2 separate regions of the Homo sapiens genome follow, and region 2 is linked to region 1. Evidence: promoter capture Hi-C in human tissues and cell types (Jung and others, 2019). All regions are on one chromosome and are shown on one strand. Each heading gives the region's core, a stretch centred on a gene start or on the middle of the fragment in contact. The rest is flanking DNA. Distances are from core to core; before and after follow the strand shown. Region 1 holds the start of ENPP5 (ectonucleotide pyrophosphatase/phosphodiesterase family member 5). Region 2 overlaps RCAN2 (regulator of calcineurin 2).

What was found. The method cuts DNA at HindIII sites, captures the fragments that hold promoters and counts their contacts. A contact is called where the count stands out against the background at its distance.
Region 2: a contact is called between a fragment that was not itself captured here and the fragment with the promoter of ENPP5 in region 1, in 1 of the 25 tissues and cell types used here (hippocampus).

Annotation. Positions count from the first base shown.
Region 1 is chr6:46,169,032-46,172,442 of GRCh38, forward strand. ENPP5 (ectonucleotide pyrophosphatase/phosphodiesterase family member 5) reads right to left here and starts at 1,949. Exons shown (of 5, transcript NM_001290072.2): 1 at 1,777-1,949; 2 at 1,022-1,083. RefSeq lists a silencer at 2,121-2,180. The HindIII fragment of the contact is 11,054 bases long and covers 1-3,411 here.
Region 2 is chr6:46,427,865-46,430,988 of GRCh38, forward strand. All of the region lies in intron 2 of RCAN2 (regulator of calcineurin 2), which reads right to left. Among named protein-coding and RNA genes, the nearest start is that of RCAN2, 62 kb to the right of the region's middle. The HindIII fragment of the contact is 4,017 bases long and covers 1-3,124 here.

The DNA.
Region 1 (3,411 bases), core at 699-3,198:
CCTAATGTTAAAATTTGTCAAAATTTAATCTTATCATTGATAGGTGTAGTAAAAGCACTTCCCTGGTTTAAAGCTCTGTGAATCAAGGTTGCTGGTCTTTTCCCCTAATCTGTGTATATTTCTAAAATACTTTCATTCTATTGAAGAAAGCTAATAAGACGCTGTATGGATAAACAATAGATATGTAAATTTTGTCAGTTTTCATCAGGCGTGCACATCCAGCAGGGATCTTTTGTTCTCTCATTTTTCTACCCATTCCTGCATGAAGGTATTTATAAACCCACCAAAACTTAGATCAAACCACACTTGTACAAATAAATCTCTTGAAACTGCCTTTTGATATCTTCCTAAGCTGAAGACTTCTTTTTTTTTTTTTTTTGAGAGGGAGTCTCACTCTGTTGCCCAAGCTGGTGTGCGGTGGCACGATCTCAGCTTACTGCAACTTCCGCCTTCCGTGTTCAAGCAATTCTCCTGCCTCAGTCTCCCAAGTAGCTGGGACTACAGGCGCCCGCCACCACACCCAGCTAATTTTTGTATTTTCAGTAGAGACAGGGTTTCGCCATGTTGGCCAGCCTGGTCTCAAAACTGCTGACCTCAGGTGATTCACCCTTCTCGGCTCCCCAAAGTGCTGGGATTACAGGCATGAGCCACCGCAGCCGGCCTGAAGACATTTTTAAACTTCAAAAATATATCCTGTTTCACCTTGCTGTATTATAGGTACAGGTAAATAAAAACTACTTGGCATGCTTGCTTTGCTTTCAGAAATACAAGGTATATGTACATTGTGGGTATTCGCTGAGGGCAATAAATTCTGTTTTGCTGGTTTTAAACTGTGTTTTCACCATACCTAGACATTTCTTAAACTGAAATTGTTTTAGGTATTGGTCTCAAGATGATAGCTCAAATGTCATATTTAAAAACGATTTCTTGGATGGCAATACTCTCTCTGATTCTGGAAGGAACATTAAACACAGTTGCAGCAAGGAATAGCAAATAGGTTACTGCAAATATATTTACTCACCTATCTGGCTATGGATGGTAGTTGCTCTCTCTGTCCTTTCTCCCCCTAATTTTCTCTCCCACCTTTTTAAAACAAGGAAGGCTAGTATCAACCAAATGTAATTTAAGGCTAAAAGCAGAGGAAATAAACTACATGGAACACCTCATTTTCATCTATCTTAGCAAATTAATTCGGCACATGTGTAAGCAGGAGAAAACTGCTTTCTTGGGACCAACAAAAGTAAGCAAAGATTAAGTGTTGTCTAAAGCTTAGGAATGTTTGGCAAGAAGACTCAACATCACATCCATGACACAGAGCAATAAACAGAGGTGGGGGGTGGGGAATGAAAACAATCAGAATTTTTTTTTTTTTCGTGCACAAAATGCTGCACAAAACAGTGGAATCCCTGGATCTGGCTCCACATTTCATTGAGTACTTTCCAGTTCTTTCTCCCCTCCAACCCTTCCTCCACAAACAGACTTGGAGAGCAGGAAGGACGGGGCACCGATTAAACGGAAGAGGGAAAGTGCAGAAGGAGTAGGTTTGTGTAGCTCGGGTAGACGTCAAGGGCGGGGGTGTCCATCTTCTCCACCAGGATTCCATCCTAGCCACCCAGAATGGTCGCGGCGTAGGTTATGTTCCCAATTCCCAGTCATCCCGCCCACCGAGGCCTGGGCTTCTTAGATGTGCAGTGGCAAGGAGGGGACGTTGCTTTAGGGACCCAGAGGAGCAGTGTGGGTTCCCGGGAGGGAAGCCACCCACGCCCCTGGACTCACCCTCGCAGCGATCCGTTCAGTCCGTATTAGTTTGGAGCAACGGGAGGGAGGGTCTGGAGGAGACTCCCTCGGGCGCGCCGCGGGTAACGGCGGGAGGGTGACTGGAGGAACGCCCCCGGAACGCGCAGGAGCTCACCTGCGCTCAACTCTGGAGCGGAGCACCTGACCGCGCCGCTTCCCCGCCCCGCCTCCTGGCTTCTATTGGCTGCTGCAGAGATAGTCACTTCTGCCTGGGTTGCCCCCGAAAGCCAGGCTCCCAGGAGTAGCTGCACGGCCTGTCAATCAGCGGGGGCAGGGGCGGGCGCTGCCTGGGTTTGGAGGGTGGAGGGGGAGGGGACTCCCGGGGGCAGGGACCCATCTGGTAGGGCGAAGGCGTGGGATGGCCAATTGCTTGGTCACACACAAAACCTTCCGGCAACGTGCCTTTTCCAGGGGACCAGCTGTGCTGGAGTCAGTGATGCTGAGAGATTATTGCGTGTTACCCCAATGGTGGGTGTACTCTAACAGTCACTGTTTTTTGTTTAAAAGCGACTTGTATTCTCTGATTTCTTATCCCAGGCTTTTTTCCTTCCCCCGCCCCCCGCCCCCTGCCTTGTCACGAATTGGCGATGGGGCACACCATGGGCTTTGCTCTGAGGAACACCTGCACACCCGAGGATGCCAATGGGACGATGAAGTTTCATTCTTTTTATTAGTGGGTGTTATCTGCTTTACCTCAGAAAGAATTTATTAACCTAGTCAACTCTGCAGCCCCAACGTTTGCAGTCCAGGTTTTTGCAATTGAGGTCCCTGAGGTATATTTGTGGTGTACCTAGCATGGCACCTGAAATTGTGCGAATTAAACCAAGACAGGTTCAGAATTAGGTTAATTTGCACAGGAGAGAGGCTGAACAGCCACCCTCTCTGGTGGTGGCATCCGAGCTCCAGACTCTGTTTCTACCTTTGTTTGCAAAGTAAACATTAAAACTACAAACATCAGGCCTGATTACTCTTTCAGAAAGCCTTCAGTGCTTCTTGTGTGTTAGTGCCCCTATTTTGTCTTTTTCCGTACTGTAGTGGATTATTTTCTCAGTTTTTTTGGGATAATCAATGGCATTTTTAGGCCTGAGGGAGTGTAGGCAGGTACTTAGTTTGCCAGTATGATCCCAACTGTCTTTACCATAAATTATAGCAGTGATATCAAACTACCCTGAAAGAATTTGTCCATCTACACAATCCCAGCTAGAATTCTGACCTAATTAGAATTCTAGTTCTATCTGCAGTAGGCAATAATATCAGGTTGATTGTTACAATGTAAGTTTAACATCTAATTAGCTGGTAAAACTGGGAGCATATCTGCAATGGTGGTTTTGGCTCCTGCCCGGAGCTCGGATCCCTTGTCTGGTGTGCTGGAGCTTTAAAGTGAATAGAGATATCTGTTGATATTTAATTAAGCCATGCAAACATTTTGGTCATAGCTTTTTCTCTGTCTGCTTCTAATAGAGGGACAATCTCAACCCCAAACATTGTTACCTCCTAACTGGGTCATCCCATCCCGAAGGGCATCTGGGCACTCTTCCATGGCCTTTTATTCGTGGTAACTTGAGTTTATGGTTTTCAACACGTGGGATGGGGATTAAGAGGGAGGCTGGTTTC
Region 2 (3,124 bases), core at 76-2,575, 260 kb after region 1:
AGCCTTGATTTACTAAGGACCACGTTTCAGCTACAGGATGAATCTGTTATGGCTAAGCTAGGACCACATTTCAGCTACAGGATGAATCTGTTAGGGCTAAGCTAGGACCACAATTCAGCTACAGGATGAATCTGTGAGGGCTAAGCTAGGACCACAATTCAGCTACAGGGTGAATCTGTGAGGGCTAAGCTAGGACCACAATTCAGCTACAGGATGAATCTGTTAGGGCTAAGCTAGGACCACATTTCAGCTACAGGATGAATCTGTTAGGGCTAAGCTAGGCCTGGTTGTCCTATTCCTCTCAGATAGATGCTTGTTTTTCCAGGCTCTTTTGCATCTAAGGGTACCAGCCAATGAGAGGTAAGTGAAGATTCACTGGGGCTAGGGAGTACTCGTTCTGCCAAATATTTTTACTCCCTGATCAAAGAATATAAGAATGATGCCAAAAAAAAAGTCCCTCACCACAGCAGCGTCACCTTGTAGTATTTATTCCCACTGAAAATCACATTATGTATTTTTTTATGTGTTCATCATTTCTCTCCATGAGATGATATGCACCATGAGTAATGGTATAGTTTATGCATTATTCATGGTACTTTGAACAGTAAACATAGTTGGAACTCAATAAATATCTGCTAAATGAATAAATAAATGATCTGACTGGGATTTTCTTTGGAGCAATGGCTTAGAATTTCCAGAGAAGAATCTCCAGTCTCTGACCTGGAAAGTAATCATCATGCTTTGGATATTCAGGGCCCAGGACAGAGGAGCATGGCTAAATTTTCACTATATCTCTGTCTTTCCAACCATGAAGCTCACCTTCCTGTACCTTCTCTTCCCTGTACCTGATGTCCCAGAACTCTCAGAACTTTTGAGGGCTTGTTTTTTTAATATATTCTCCCTCATGGAGGCAATTTAGCTGAAAGCTCCTTCCACTCTGCTAAATTAGTTGCCATTCCTCCATCTGCTTTCTTCTCAAAATGTGTTAAAATCTCTTGACAGGTGATATCTTCTCTCTATTCTCTTCTACCATGGTTTATACCTTGTTATATTTTTACTTTTAGGAATGAGAGTAAATTCATATGGCCAATGTGTCATATCTAAAACAGGAATGTAAATATGTAGAAGGTAAAAGGTAGATGACCTCAGCCTCAGAGATAATATCAGGTAATCAATTAAGCAAGAGCTTATGATATTAATCACATGTATAATTGTTTTAAAAGATAAACCACAGTGTAAGTAGTAGGGGCAAAAGGGGTGATCCAGGAGTCCTTTACAGAAATGCACCTAAAGTATAGAAACCAGAGTCCTTCACAGAAATGCACCTAAAGCATCCCACTTAATATAGGGGAACACAGTATGCTAGATATAAATGAATAGAATTGTATAAACACTTTTACAGGGTGTACTCTGAACTTGCCACTTTAGAGGCAGCTTTGCACAACAGAGGCATTTTAACTCGAAGCCAAAAGATACGGGTTCCAGTCCCACCTATGATAGATCTATGTGAATATCAGCAAATTACTACAGAACTCTGCATCTTTTACCTTGCACATTTGCTGTAAGGGTCAAATAACTCACAAACTTCTTGGTAGACTGCAGAGTACTCTTCAGTTTTCTTGGTTATTACACTGAAGAAGGAAAATATTATCTTGAGAGTTATCAACGTTTTAATTTCTGAGAGAAATAGGTTCCATATGAAACGTCTCTATCAGTACAAGCAGAATCTGAAGGAATCCCTAAAAGGTATTGTATTCATTTTTTTTCAACAAATTATATGCCAGGCACTGTGCCAGGTGCTAGAGAATGGTCATTAGGGCAGGTACGTTCTTGCCCTTATGGACCCTAGGGTCTAATGTGAAGATGTTAGTTAACAATCACATAAAGAAATGGATCATTCATGCTGAGATAAGCGCTCTGAAGGAAAGAAGCACAGCACTCTAAAAGTGTATCCCAGAGGAACTAACGAGGTCTTGCACTGGCACAGGAGGGATGCGGCTGGCAGTGTATATGGCAGATAAATCAGCACATGCAAAGACCCTGGGAATATGACAACAGTTGTAAACTCAAAGAAGGAGAGAAAGTTAGCATGGCTGGAGACAGAAGACTCAGGAGTGAAGGAAAAGCCTTGAGGTAGGTTGACCTTGAAGGCCAGGCTAAGAATACTGACCTTCATCCTGAAAGGAATGGGAAGCTTTGGGTGGGTTTTACACATACCATATTTGAGCTTTGAAACCAAAAAACTAAAGCACTTCAAGCTTCAAAGTGAAATGCATTGAAGAACAGCAAGAGAGGACCAGTCGCAGACCAAGACAGAGACAACTGCAATAGTCGAGATGAGAGATGCCTGAAGCTTGGAGCAGGGATAAAAGTGAGCTGTCAAATAGGAGAGATATTTAGGACGTAACATCATCAGGATTAGCTACAGAATGATTGGGTGAGGGAGAAGGAGAGCTTCTGAGTGGAAAAACTGGATGTAGGGTGGTTTGGTTCAGGAATACAAGAAATAATGGAAGGAGACCTGGTTAGCAGATGGCTTTCTATATCATGAGACATCAAGAGGAGACATCAGTTACCTACCTCAGAGAGGCTGCTTGGATCAGGGGTAGAATGTTCATAGTTGTTAGTGTACAGGTGGCAATTAAAGGTTTGGATGAGATTGCTTAGGAGGAGAATGAAGAGGGAAATAAGAGGAATATATGAGTGAAAATGCACTCACTTTTATAATTTAATTCAATCCTCCTAGTCCTCCCAATTTTAAGATTTGCCTTCTCATCGGGAATGTGGATTTTCCATAGGTGTGATTTCACTTTTATACATTCTCACTGAGAAATAAAAGATTGGTTTCTTCAAAGTTATGTACAATAGCAAATTGGTTTCTTCAAAGGTATGTACAATAGCAGATTCCCAGCACATGTGTATCAAGAATACAAAATAGGAAACAACAGACAGGCAACTAAGAGAGGCTATTAGCTGTAGGTTCTAAGAGTTATTAAAAATTGAGAGATGAGGAATAAGAAAAAAATGATTTTCCCTGAAACAGCTTTTAAAATACTTTTGCGTAGAGAACCCCAGATGCCATCAATCAGGAAAATGATCTCTGGCAGAGAAGAATATGGTTGAT